2 separate regions of the Homo sapiens genome follow, and region 2 is linked to region 1. Evidence: promoter capture Hi-C in 16 types of primary human blood cells and fetal thymus (Javierre and others, 2016). All regions are on one chromosome and are shown on one strand. Each heading gives the region's core, a stretch centred on a gene start or on the middle of the fragment in contact. The rest is flanking DNA. Distances are from core to core; before and after follow the strand shown. Region 1 holds the start of MAMLD1 (mastermind like domain containing 1). Region 2 overlaps MTM1 (myotubularin 1).

Evidence for each region. Contacts are between HindIII fragments. The CHiCAGO score rates a contact against its expected background, and 5 or more counts as called.
Region 2: a fragment that was not itself captured here is called in contact with the fragment with the promoter of MAMLD1 in region 1 in 1 of 17 cell types (activated CD4 T cells); the score reaches 5.6 in activated CD4 T cells.

What each region holds. Positions count from the first base shown.
Region 1 is chrX:150,360,170-150,365,847 of GRCh38, forward strand. It overlaps MAMLD1 (mastermind like domain containing 1), which reads left to right and starts at 3,148. Exons shown (of 8, transcript NM_005491.5): 1 at 3,148-3,361. The HindIII fragment of the contact is 7,703 bases long and covers 1-5,678 here.
Region 2 is chrX:150,643,175-150,648,852 of GRCh38, forward strand. MTM1 (myotubularin 1) reads left to right here. Exons shown (of 15, transcript NM_000252.3): 9 at 2,509-2,697. Among named protein-coding and RNA genes, the nearest start is that of MTMR1, 47 kb to the right of the region's middle. The HindIII fragment of the contact is 1,316 bases long and covers 2,217-3,532 here.

The sequences.
Region 1 (5,678 bases), core at 1,898-4,397:
GCCAGCCCATAGATATCTTGGGGAAGTGAATTCCAGCCCAAGGGAACAGCTAAAGCAAAAGTCCTAAGTAAAGCAGGAATGTATCTATGTGTTGAGGAAGAGTTGGGAGGTCTGTGTGGCTGGAGCACAGTGAGTGGAGGGAAGATGACGTTATTGAGATAGTGGAGGGACATGCCTGAAGGGCCCCAGAGGCCACTAGAAGCACTTCAGTTCTACTTTGAGTGCAATGGGGAGTCACTGTGGGGTTTGGCACAGAGATCGGGGAATAGACTGCAAGGAGAGGGTTGAAGGGAGGGAGGAATGAGGGCAGTCTGTGCGGCAGCTACTGGAGTTATCCTGGGGGGAGAGGCTGCTGGCTGGTACCCGGGGGGAGCAATGGATGAGCAGACTGACATTGTGGATACATTTTGATGATGCAGATGGCAGAATTGTCCACTGGACTGGCTGTGAGGTGTGAGCAAGAGAGAAGAATCGGGGAGGATCCCAGGGCCTTCTGCCTGGGCAACGTGAAGGATGGAGTAGCCATGAACTGAGGTAGCAGACTATGGGCTCAGCACACTTGGGAGACGATCAGGAACTCGGTTCAGTCAGGCGATTTCTAATGGCCATCCAGGTGCTGGTGCCAAGCAGGCAGTTAGCCATCTCGCAGACGTGTGGCTGTGATATTACAGGCTTCTTAGGATGCTCTAGGGGAATGGGCATCATTTGTCCCACTGAGGAAGATGAGAGCAAGTGGTCCAAGGGTTGAGTGGAGGTGCTGGGAACAGAAACCCACCTTCCATCTCCTTGGCTAGTGCACTTGGAGGTTGCAGATAGAATTTTAAAAGCATCCTGCCAATGCTCCGTGATAGGCATGGCCATCTCCCATTCAGCTTTGTTTAATCAGATTTCCTTCAAGGGACTCCCGCACTCTCGCAGTTCTACCGGGGCACTGGCAACCCTGAGATGACTCTAGCTCTCCCTGGAGGGCCTTGAAGGTAAGGTTCAGTCACCAGAGAGCAATAACCTCTTCTGGCTGCTTGCCCTTTGCAGAGCAGACAGGACTGGACCCAGACAAGGCGGATTCCTTCACAACTGCCCTGACGAACTGTGTACCCCCAGCCTCGCCCTGTTGGGCTGGGCGCATCCTGGCAGCGCTGGGGCTGCGAAGCCACAGCCCCTGCATGTGCCTCGCGGTTGGGCCTGGACGCCGCTCTTCCTCCAGGTAACTTCGTGAAACGCTAGGAGGCAATCGCCCAGCCTCACTGCGCCTACGTAGCCCACGAAGGGATCTTGCTGGGTTCTCGGAGGTGGCCCCAGCGCTTTCCGAGGGCCGAGAGCGTGGGCGTGGAGGGAAGGAGGGGCCTAGTGGGCGGCGGGCCCACCCCTTTATTCGTGGCCTGCGGCTCCGCTGAGCGTGACCAGATGTGTTGGTGACAGGTTGCTACTCAGAGGTGCGGACAGGAGCTGAGCGCTGCTGCTGTCGGAGCAGACGCGGCGTTCCCGGGTTGTGCTCAGCCCCTGCAGCTGCCATCGGCTGGAGAAGTCCAGGTTAGGAAACGCATCCGGGGAGGGGATCCTAGAGAAGGGGCGCAGCCAAATACCCGGGAGGTGGGATAGGTGGGAGGGGAGTCGCTGGACTCGGCGCCAGGGCAGATGGTGGACAGGGCGCGCTGGCCCGCCCGGCAGTTCCCAAGGAACCTATGTTCCTGCAGAAGCCGCAGGTGTCCGTCTTGGGATAACTGCGGAGGGAGCCAATCCAGCCCAGCTTGGGCGGGAGCATCGCGTGCCCTGGTCCAGTGGAACGGGAGACTGGCCAGCGAGCCTGGACTCTGAGCTAAGCGTACTGGCGGGCGACGCCGACAGCGTCCGCGCTAAGGGTGGGGGACTGGGAAGTGGGGAGTGGGGCACTCGGCCGGGATGGAGAGAATGCAGTTCACTAACTGCCACCTGAGAGCCCTGGTCCCCGCTGCCGCCACAGCGGGTCTGTTTGGCAGTCAGGGCGCGAGCTGGTGAGCGGATGCGTGGGCGGAGGGACTGGCGCTACCCACCCAGCAGCCACCCACTGCAGGTGAGTGCCCCTCCCAGGGCGAGGGGAGGAGAAGGGCCTGGCCGCTAGCCCTAGGGTCAGGCTCTGGTGAAAATGGGAAGGGGGATGGGGGCTGAATAGGCTACTTTGTGATGAGACTCCCGTCCCTGTGACACTTCAGGGTCCTCTGGGGATCTGTCATTCCTCTTGCAAGCTCTCTTGTTCTCTGGTCCCTCTCCTCCTCTCCTTATTTCCTCCTCTCCTCTCCTCTCCTCTCATCTCCTCTCCTCTCCTCTCCCTTCATCGTGTCTCTACCTCTATCTCCGCCGGTGCCTCTCTCGGTATCTGTCTCTCAGTCTCTGCCTTCTCTGTGTCTCGTACGGTCTCCTGTCTTTCTTGGTCTCTCGGTCCTGAGCGCTCTCTCGCCCTGTCACTGATGACCGCTGGCTTTTGGCTCTCCGTGCTCGCTCTTCGTGTGTCCCGGCCACGCACGGCTCACCAGCTCGTTTTCCCCAGACGCGGAAAGTCTACCTTCGGCGTGCGGGTTTCCCAAGCGCGCCGGGCCCCGCCTGCGGCCCTCCGGCGGGCTCTGTCTGCTGGAGGCGCTCCGCTAACCCTGCTGTCGCCTCTTTCCACCAGCGCACCGCCTAGGCAAGCCAGCTGACGCCGGGGGCACAGACCACCCTCCACTGAGTGCGGAGCAGCCAAGGTGAGTGCACCGATGCCCCTTCCGCCCCTCCGATCCCTCCCCAGCTGCCCTGGTTCGAGCCGACTGGAGAAATGAGGCTGCAACAGCGAAGCCAGCCTGCGGCCGCTTTCTCCTCTAAAGACTGGTGGGAGGGCCCGGGAGGCCCCTCGGGCGGCCGCAGCTCTTTGGCTGCCCGCTGCCCCATCCCGGAGTGGAAACCCTGAGTTTCCAGGCTTCGGGCTGGCGGGGTCGCGGGCAGGGCAGCGCGGCTTCCCCTTTAAGGCCGGAGCCGCTCGTCGCCGTGAGTGTGAGGGTGTGTGAGTGTGCGGCGTGCGTGTCTCCTCCTCCCCGAGTGACACAGCAGTGAGAAATGCCTATCAGTAACTTAAACCCCCGAAACTCCACCTTCCGGGCGCGCGGCGCGGAGCCGGGCGGTGGGAATGGAGCGAGCAGATTGAGGCCGCCACTGCAGCGCCGCCAGCATGAACTTGGCCGCGAGCTGAAGCGGCCGGCGGCGGGCGGGCGCGGGGGCACCGGCCGCTAGCCAGGGGGTGATCTGCAACAGGGCTGGGTTCCTTGGCGGCCGCCTGAGTCCAGGCTGCCCGCGCCGGCGGCCGCCCGCCCCTCGGACACTGCCCCCGCCGCCGCCGGAGCTCTGCAGCACGGTAAGGCTGAGGGCGGGTGCAGGAAGTCTGACTGTTCTGGGGGTTCCGGGGTACACTTGTAGCCCCCAGTTATGGTCCCCATCGCTGAGGATCGGGGTCCCAGGGGTGCTTCGAGTCGGTAGACCCTAAAGTTTGCTCTGAGCACACGGCCCACCTGGCGCTGCGGGCGGCCACCCCCTTCTCGAACCAGCCCGGCTGGGCTGGGCGCAGCTCGAAACGCCGGAGACCACGGCCTTTGGCTCGGCGCCCGTCGGGCGTCTGAAATCCGGCGGGGACAGCCACGTACCGGGGAGGAAAGGTAGAAGGGCGCAAGCTCCTCGGGCTACGCTGGGCTACTGGGAGGCTCCCACTCTGTCCCAGCACCCCCGGGTCGCTTGCAGCCTGGGTGTCACCGGCGACGGTGCCTTCACATGCCAGCTGCCTGAGCCCAGGCCAGTAGGCAGTGGGCGCTGGATGAAGGATTTCCCCACCCCAACGCTGTTTGCCGCCTCTGAGCGAGAGTGTGGAGTGTGCGCGCCGAATCCGCTGCCCTGCACTCCCTCCCCTGCCAACTCCTGGGAAGCGCAGCCCGGAGCTGAGCTGGTGTTCAGGGCAGCCCGGACTGGGTTCCTGCGGAGCAGCCCCGGCGCCCCTGCGTCAGAGTCCGCGCTTCAGGTTCCCCAGCATCCGCGCGACGACAGAGCTGGGCGCCCGGCGCCGGCTAGCGCGGGCGGGAAGCCCCCCGGAGCGCCGCCAAATACTTTTCTCGGCCAGTTGGCTTGGCCAGGCTCCGTCCCAATGCAGTGTGTCCGAAGCCTCCTGGAAAGCTGGAGATGTCGTCTGATTCTGATCCGTGATTAAATTCGGACTGAGCAGACACTAATAGGATTAGCCTGCCAGAAAGCTCGGCCCTGAAGCCATCGGAACCTGTGCAAACACGCGCCTCGGGCTGGAGCATTCACTCCCGCCCCGCCGCGCTTCTGCAGCTGGGTGCGGCTGACCTGGGCACCCGGAGTGTGGGTGTGTGTGAGCGGGCGGGAGCACAGCGTGGCTGGGGGACGTGGGGAGAAGGGGCTGCTTTTGCTGGGGTGGCTTGTCGTTGTTGTTTGGCACCACGGTGCCCCCCGGGGGCGCGGTCCCCACGGTGAACGTGCTGCTCACGGGTAGGCAAACCCAGGCCGGCTCCGGGACATTGTCTGCAAGGGCGAGCGAGCCGAGCTTACTAGAGGCGGCTGCGCTGGAACAAAGGCGCAAAGTCTCCCTGAGACCAAGCAATTTTGAAAGAGTTGGCTAGGGAGAGGGCCTGGGTCTCCCGGGGTAGACCCCCGCGGGAATTGCGCCGCCCCCAGCGGCCCCGGCCCGCGCCTGGGGAATTGTGTTCCCTGGTTGCGGTGAGCCGGCGAGCGACATCGCAGCGGCGCGGCCCAGCTCTTGGCAGGCGTGGGTTGCCGCCCGAGTGCCCACCGGCCGGGCGGGGTCGACCGTGCACCCGCCGGGGCTTCCCGGCCGCCACCGCAGCTCTGGGCCCCTGGAGGCCGCGCAGCTTCTTTCCTTCCCTCCCTCCCACCTCTTCTTGTCTTTATAGATCCCCCCTCCCTCCCACCCCCGCCGCCGCCGCCGCCAACAATCCGCTTTATAAAAAGCCCCTTTGTTTCCCAGGAGGCTGGAGAGAGGGAAGGGGAAAAGGGACGCAGAGGCAGAGGGCGGGGGCGGCTGTCTCCAAGTGGTTTCGAGCCGCTCGGGACAGGAGGGCAAGTGTAGGCGATGGGGGAGGGGGCTGTGTTTCGAGGACCCTCTGTGGGAACCCACGAAGGCGCACGGAGCCTCAGCCCCGGCCCTCGCTGCACGCCCGGCCTGCCAGCCCTGGACACCCTAAATCCTGGCGGCCGGGACGGCCGAGTGGACTGCACTGCGAGCTGGCGGGCGCGCGCAGAGGCCCTAGGCTGCAAGCGCTCCGCGGGGTGGGCAGACGCGACTCGCCGATGCGCTCGCCGGGCTCGGGCATAGGGGGCGCCCTTTCCTTGGTTTCGCTTTGCAGCGGGCGCCCCTCGCCGCCGGAGCTCAGGGCAGCTGTCGCGCCCGCCGGTGGCTAAGACGGAGGCGGCAGCTCGGAGGCTTAGGCCACCCGCGTCTGGCTACACGCCTCATTTCTTCCCGCGCCCTCCTGCCACACCCTCCGCCCCACCACACACAAGGGCTCAAACTCTCCGAGCGCCCTTTGTTTGGAGGCGCGGAGGCAGTGGGAGCCGCCACCTCCGGGGTTCGTGTAGCCTAGGCGGGCAGTGAGGATGAGCGTGCTACTCTGGACTGCGCGCTGGCCTGCTGCCTCTGCACCTAA
Region 2 (5,678 bases), core at 1,625-4,124, 280 kb after region 1:
ATTAATATCTGATAGTTGGTTCTTTTTATAAAACCTCATGTAAAAATACAAAAGGAAGTGACATGAAAGAGATCTTATTTTGCATGTAAATAAGATATAAACTATAATAAAATATTGCTGGGTAGAGAAATAATCAATGTGCATTAAATGTTTCCATTAATGGATATGTATTCTCTTATTCTCAAACAGATTTCTCTTAATTTTATGAGTCTTTAATGTATGAGTAATGCACGTTCATTTTAAGCATTATAAAAAATACTGATAAGCAAAAAGGAGTCTGCCACCTAGTGAGAACCAGTGTTAACACTGTTGGTATATATCCTTTCAGACTTCCTTCTAAGCATATATCTACACACACACACACATATGTATATATATTTGAAAAAAGTGAAATTATTCTATAATTTGTGTCTCAGTCTATAGAAATTATTCTATAATTTGTGTCTTTATCTAGCAATATCTTGTAAACAACTTCCCATGTTGCTAAATATGATCCGCTCATATGCCAGTGTGTAGATGTACCATGATTTAATCAGTTTTCCATTGTGAGACATTCAGCTTCTGCTTAATCTTTTGCTATTGTAAGTAATGCTGTAATAAACATCTTTCAGTGGTTAGATATTTGTGTACTTAATTATCTATGGCTTCTAGATATGAATTTTAATAAGAATAATACAGTGCCATATACTGTAAAAGCACTCATGGTAGTTGACACTGTGAAATGAACATTATTTGTACCTGTTTAGCTCTGTAATAAGCATCCTTTTCAAAAAGTAGTAAGAATCCCCCCTCCTGCAAAGAAATTAAGAGGAGAAACAACTCAGAGGAGTAGCATTTCCTAACATGGCACCACAAAGAGAATAGGGGTCGGGAGGCCATTGCCTATGGCCCGACTGAAATTTACAACTTGATGAGGGTCTTTCTCAATAATAAATAATTTTTATTTTTAATAATTTCTCAAATTATTAAAATAATAAAAAATATTAAAAAATATTTTAATAATTTCTCAAATAATAAATCTTTTAAATGTGTAGCAAATTGCTCCTTTAAAGTGGTCTCATGTCTCTTGTCTCTCTTGATACCAGGGCCATAGAGGGAAAGGAAGGCAGATCTCATATGTGCTGTGCATTATAGATTGGAAGGTGGAGGTTTAGGTCCCACTGGTACCTTCTCCAAGGCTCCCAGTTCTGAGCCTTTGGACTCTTATTAGGCAGGGGCTACAATGGTGTTTTTAATTGATCTCTAGCATGGTGCAAGGACCATATTTGTTCTGAGAATGAATAAATATTACTGTATAATCTTTTCTCAATAACCTGTTGTCATTATAAACACTCATTTTTATAAACATCAATGTTTGTCATTTGCCATCATGGGGTAGGTAACTTCAGAGACATCAGGGAATTTGGTGTTATGTTGAGTGAGCCCACATGATTAAGCTTCTTTCGTTCTTTGTATCTGCATTTTGTAGTTTTTGCTAACTGACTTTCCTGGCTGCTGGGCCTGCCTCTATAAGCTAACACGAGCCAGTGTTTATTGCAGACTTTCTGGGCATTCTTCTTCAGGCCACCGAGCAACCCTATGAGATTATATTATTCTCCCCATTTTATGGAAGAGGAAAGGGAAGCCAGAGAAGCTGCGAGTGAAATGCCTGAGGTTAGAACCACGGCAGAGATGGCACTAGACCCCAAAGTCCACATTGTCGCCCACTGTGCTGCAGTTCTCCAGCTTCCCATTTTTAATAGCTTTATTGAGATCTACTTCACATACCAAACAATTTCCCATCTCAAGTGTACAATTCTGTCGTTTTTGGTATATTACATTATTAGCTACCTTTTACGTGTATTACTTTTCACATGCTATGAGCTTGGCAACCAGGGAGCAAATGTGCTAGACTTGTGTATAAAGTTAGAGAAGATAGGTTCTGAATCAGGGCTTGATGAGGTCTCCTAGGCATTGGATGTCCACACTGCACTGTGGAGACGAGCAGATCTATGCTCTTTGGGCTGTCCTGAGATCAGTTTTGCTCTGCTCAGGTTTTCTTCCTTCCTGTGTTAGATTCTAGAATTGAGACTGTTGGGAAAATGATCTGTAGACAGAGTTGGTATTATGAGAAACATATTGTACCAGAGACAATTTCCTTTACCTCTCACTTTTTGCCAAAGCTGCTTCTATATGATAACAAATCCAGTGCAAGCTACATAATTAAAATAGGATCAAGCTTTCAATTTCCTTTAAGTGATATAACTATTTTTAGGTAAGCAATTAATTTATATTGGATGTGGTGCTAATTAAGAAAAGACTGGTAATTGTACTTGTTTCTGAGTTATATTATTAAATGCATGTCTCTGGGCACACACACGCAGTGAGATTGCAAGTGAACAAGTATTCTATTTTAGCACAATCAGATTCACTTCTTGATAACCGTCAGTGCTTTACTGTTTTACAGTTTTAATTGTTTGCTTGGAGATTTGCTTTCTTGATAGCTTAAACTTTCTGACTTAACCATAGGTGCTGTCATGGATTCATCCAGAAAATAAGACGGTCATTGTGCGTTGCAGTCAGCCTCTTGTCGGTATGAGTGGGAAACGAAATAAAGATGATGAGAAATATCTCGATGTTATCAGGGAGACTAATAAACAAATTTCTAAACTCACCATTTATGATGCAAGACCCAGCGTAAATGCAGTGGCCAACAAGGTGAGTGGACTTAATGATGTGCTGGACACTTAGCTTACATATGGAGTGCAGTGTTTTCTGTGAATGTTTTTGCCATGATATAGAAACACGTGGGTTTAAATTAATAGTTAAGAAAACCAGTTCTCTTAGACAGAAAGTAGTTTTAATCACAAAACTTAAACAAAATTGAATATATCAAAATCAAATGCAAATAAACTTTAGGTAAATAGGCATGTCTAGACTGTAATGAAATTGGGTTTTGGCCAGGACCTTGGCAGGAAAAAGTTAGATTCTCTTTAAAGCCCTTTCAGCTGTGGATGATCACTCATTGTGTACACTATTGGGGCATCTGTAAGAAGCTATGGGAAGCTGTAATTATTAAAATACTAAATTTGCATGCTTACTCAAACACTCCCTCCCCCATACCCGTATATACTCACATATGTGTATTCTCATTTACATAAGATAATTCAAGAAATGAGTAGGTCCACGTATGTGAGTTTTCCAGGCACAAACATATACACAAAGTTGACCGTTTTCAAAGAAGTCTGTCTCAATTGACTTTTTGCTGTAAGCAGAATATGCTGAATGCACTTAAAATTGATTAGGGTCATCATGAACATCAGTGACTGCATAGTGTTGCCTTCAGAAGCTGCTGCAAGGTGTATGGCTGTTTGCTTGCTCTACTAAATGGCCCCAGATTGATGTGCATTTTACGTTCTATTTCTCCTTTTTGTTGTTTTTCTTTTCCTTCTCCTCCCATCATTGCTGTCACTTTCAAATGCTCACGAGGGGCCTGCCCCAAATTGCTCACTCCCATTCCAGCTTTCAGATTTATTGTTTCTCCTCTGCTGTAAGCTTAAATTTCATCATATTTAATACATTGCTTATCCTGAGGTTATTTGTCTAGCATCTTCAATTATTCAGAACATAAGACAAGAACCAGAAAGCAAAACAAGTTCTTGAGCAGCTCAGATAGGTGCAGCAGCTTCCTAATAGAATCTGTGATATCTGTCTGGACTAGGATGTGTCAGACTGCATGCATGCAGAGCTCAACTCTTCATTATTTGTGCACAGATCTTCTGTCCTACACATTTAATCCTGGGCCACCTCCCCATCCCCATGCATGCTTTTAAACCAGCTATTTGTTACTACGGTTGTTTTTTGGTCCAGAGATGATTTTGAAATTATATGTGAAGCAGTCAGTAAGTTAAATTGACAAGTAAATTAGGAATCGTAAGTGAAACACTCAGGAAATTAAATCTAACTCTAAATATCTTCTTGGATTGTCCTTAATTTTATATATCTGTGTACCTATTATCTTTCATATATATTTCAGGGTGAATATATATATATATATATATATATATAGCAATATTTTCATGTACATATTTAGCCTGAAATAGATATGATATAGCATTACAATGAAGTATTTACAAAGAATATTTTAGAATATTAAAATGCATGAAATGGATACACTAATTAAAGCTCATTCCAGCAACAGAATTCCTGAAGGCCTTTTTAACACTCAGGAAACAAGCTTCTATTTCTAGTCCTCTTAGGAGTCGAGGGAAGGAAAATATCAGGGAAAAAGCCTAAGCTTTACAGATCTCTGTCATTCTTTTAAAAAGCTCACTTGTTTCTCCCTTCCTCTGCTGTGTCTCTCCGCTAGTCGCTAATATCCATAGCAACAGGCCCGTAGACCTTTACATCATCGTCCTAGGTAATCTACATTGTTCTTTTTTGTTGAAGAAAGGAAAACCAAAAAGAATACTTCAAAAGTAACCAGAGATGTAGAATTTGAACTTTCAGGAACTCAGTGTGTGCTTGACTAATTGATTGTTGCCCTTTCTGACCTTCTGTTCTCCTTGGACCTAATTGTTCCTCCCTTACGGATATTTAGAAATTTACATCCCCAGATGCAACAAGCAACGGCACATCATTTTAAATTAAACAAAATCCAAGGATTGGTAAGATCTAGCAGCAAGCCGCTTCTATTTTTGTGGCGGTACATCGTGATGAATTAATGTGGAACTGTGCTAATGTCTGTTTTTACCAGAAACATTAGCGATGAGTAATAAAGTATATTTTTCCTTTTATTTTTTCACTTATTTTCAGTTATTTATGAAGAGAACTCTAGTTTCAAGAATCTCTTTGAAAATCACCATAACTATTTAAAAACCACATGTGTAGAGAAGCAGGAAGAGGAGAAAGTGGCCCACTTAAATAATAAATTGCTTATTTATTAGCTAATAACTTTTTTAAAACAACACTGTGAATGTTTACTGTCTACTTACCAGTGATACTATTTAGAGCACGCTCTAAAGAAATATTTCTGCCTAACTATATTTTCTTGCCTAGAGTCTTTAGAGACCAAGATCTCTGGCTTTTAACATAGGTCTCCAAGTTTGAAACCTAAATGGATGGTAGCCTTACTTCTGCAGGAAACCTTTTTCTGTGACTACCTCCAGGAAAAAACAAAAACAAAAAACAAAAAAAAACCTAAGTTTCTTTGGCCCTTCTATCCATGGCTACAAGCTTATATTCCTTCCATTGTTGTTAATAAAGAGAAAATAGGCATATTGTAGCTATGGCACATTTGTCTGGTGACTTCTCCTTTCCTCTTCAGCCCCAGGCAGATGTTTCCCTGTTCTGTTCCTACAGGCACTCTGGAGTTAGTATAATATTGTTTTCTTTGCAAGTCTCAGAACTGTTTAACTTTTTCTTAAAGGGCCAAAGGCCACGTGTTCTATGCCATTTCAAAACGTTTAAGCAGAATGCAGCCAGATTCCTAAATGAAACCATAGCATCTCTTTTTGTCAGTGTGGAAAATGGGCACTCTTCACCATGCTGTGAAGATGAACCAAAGCCTGCCCTGGCAAGTTAATACTTGTAGTTGCTGCAGTAGGCGGTAGCCATCTTGTCTCCTCTTGAAATCTTCTATTCTTTCAGAGCTCACTATGTGCAGTGCTCTCTCATTGGTGTTTGCATAGCAGAGAAAT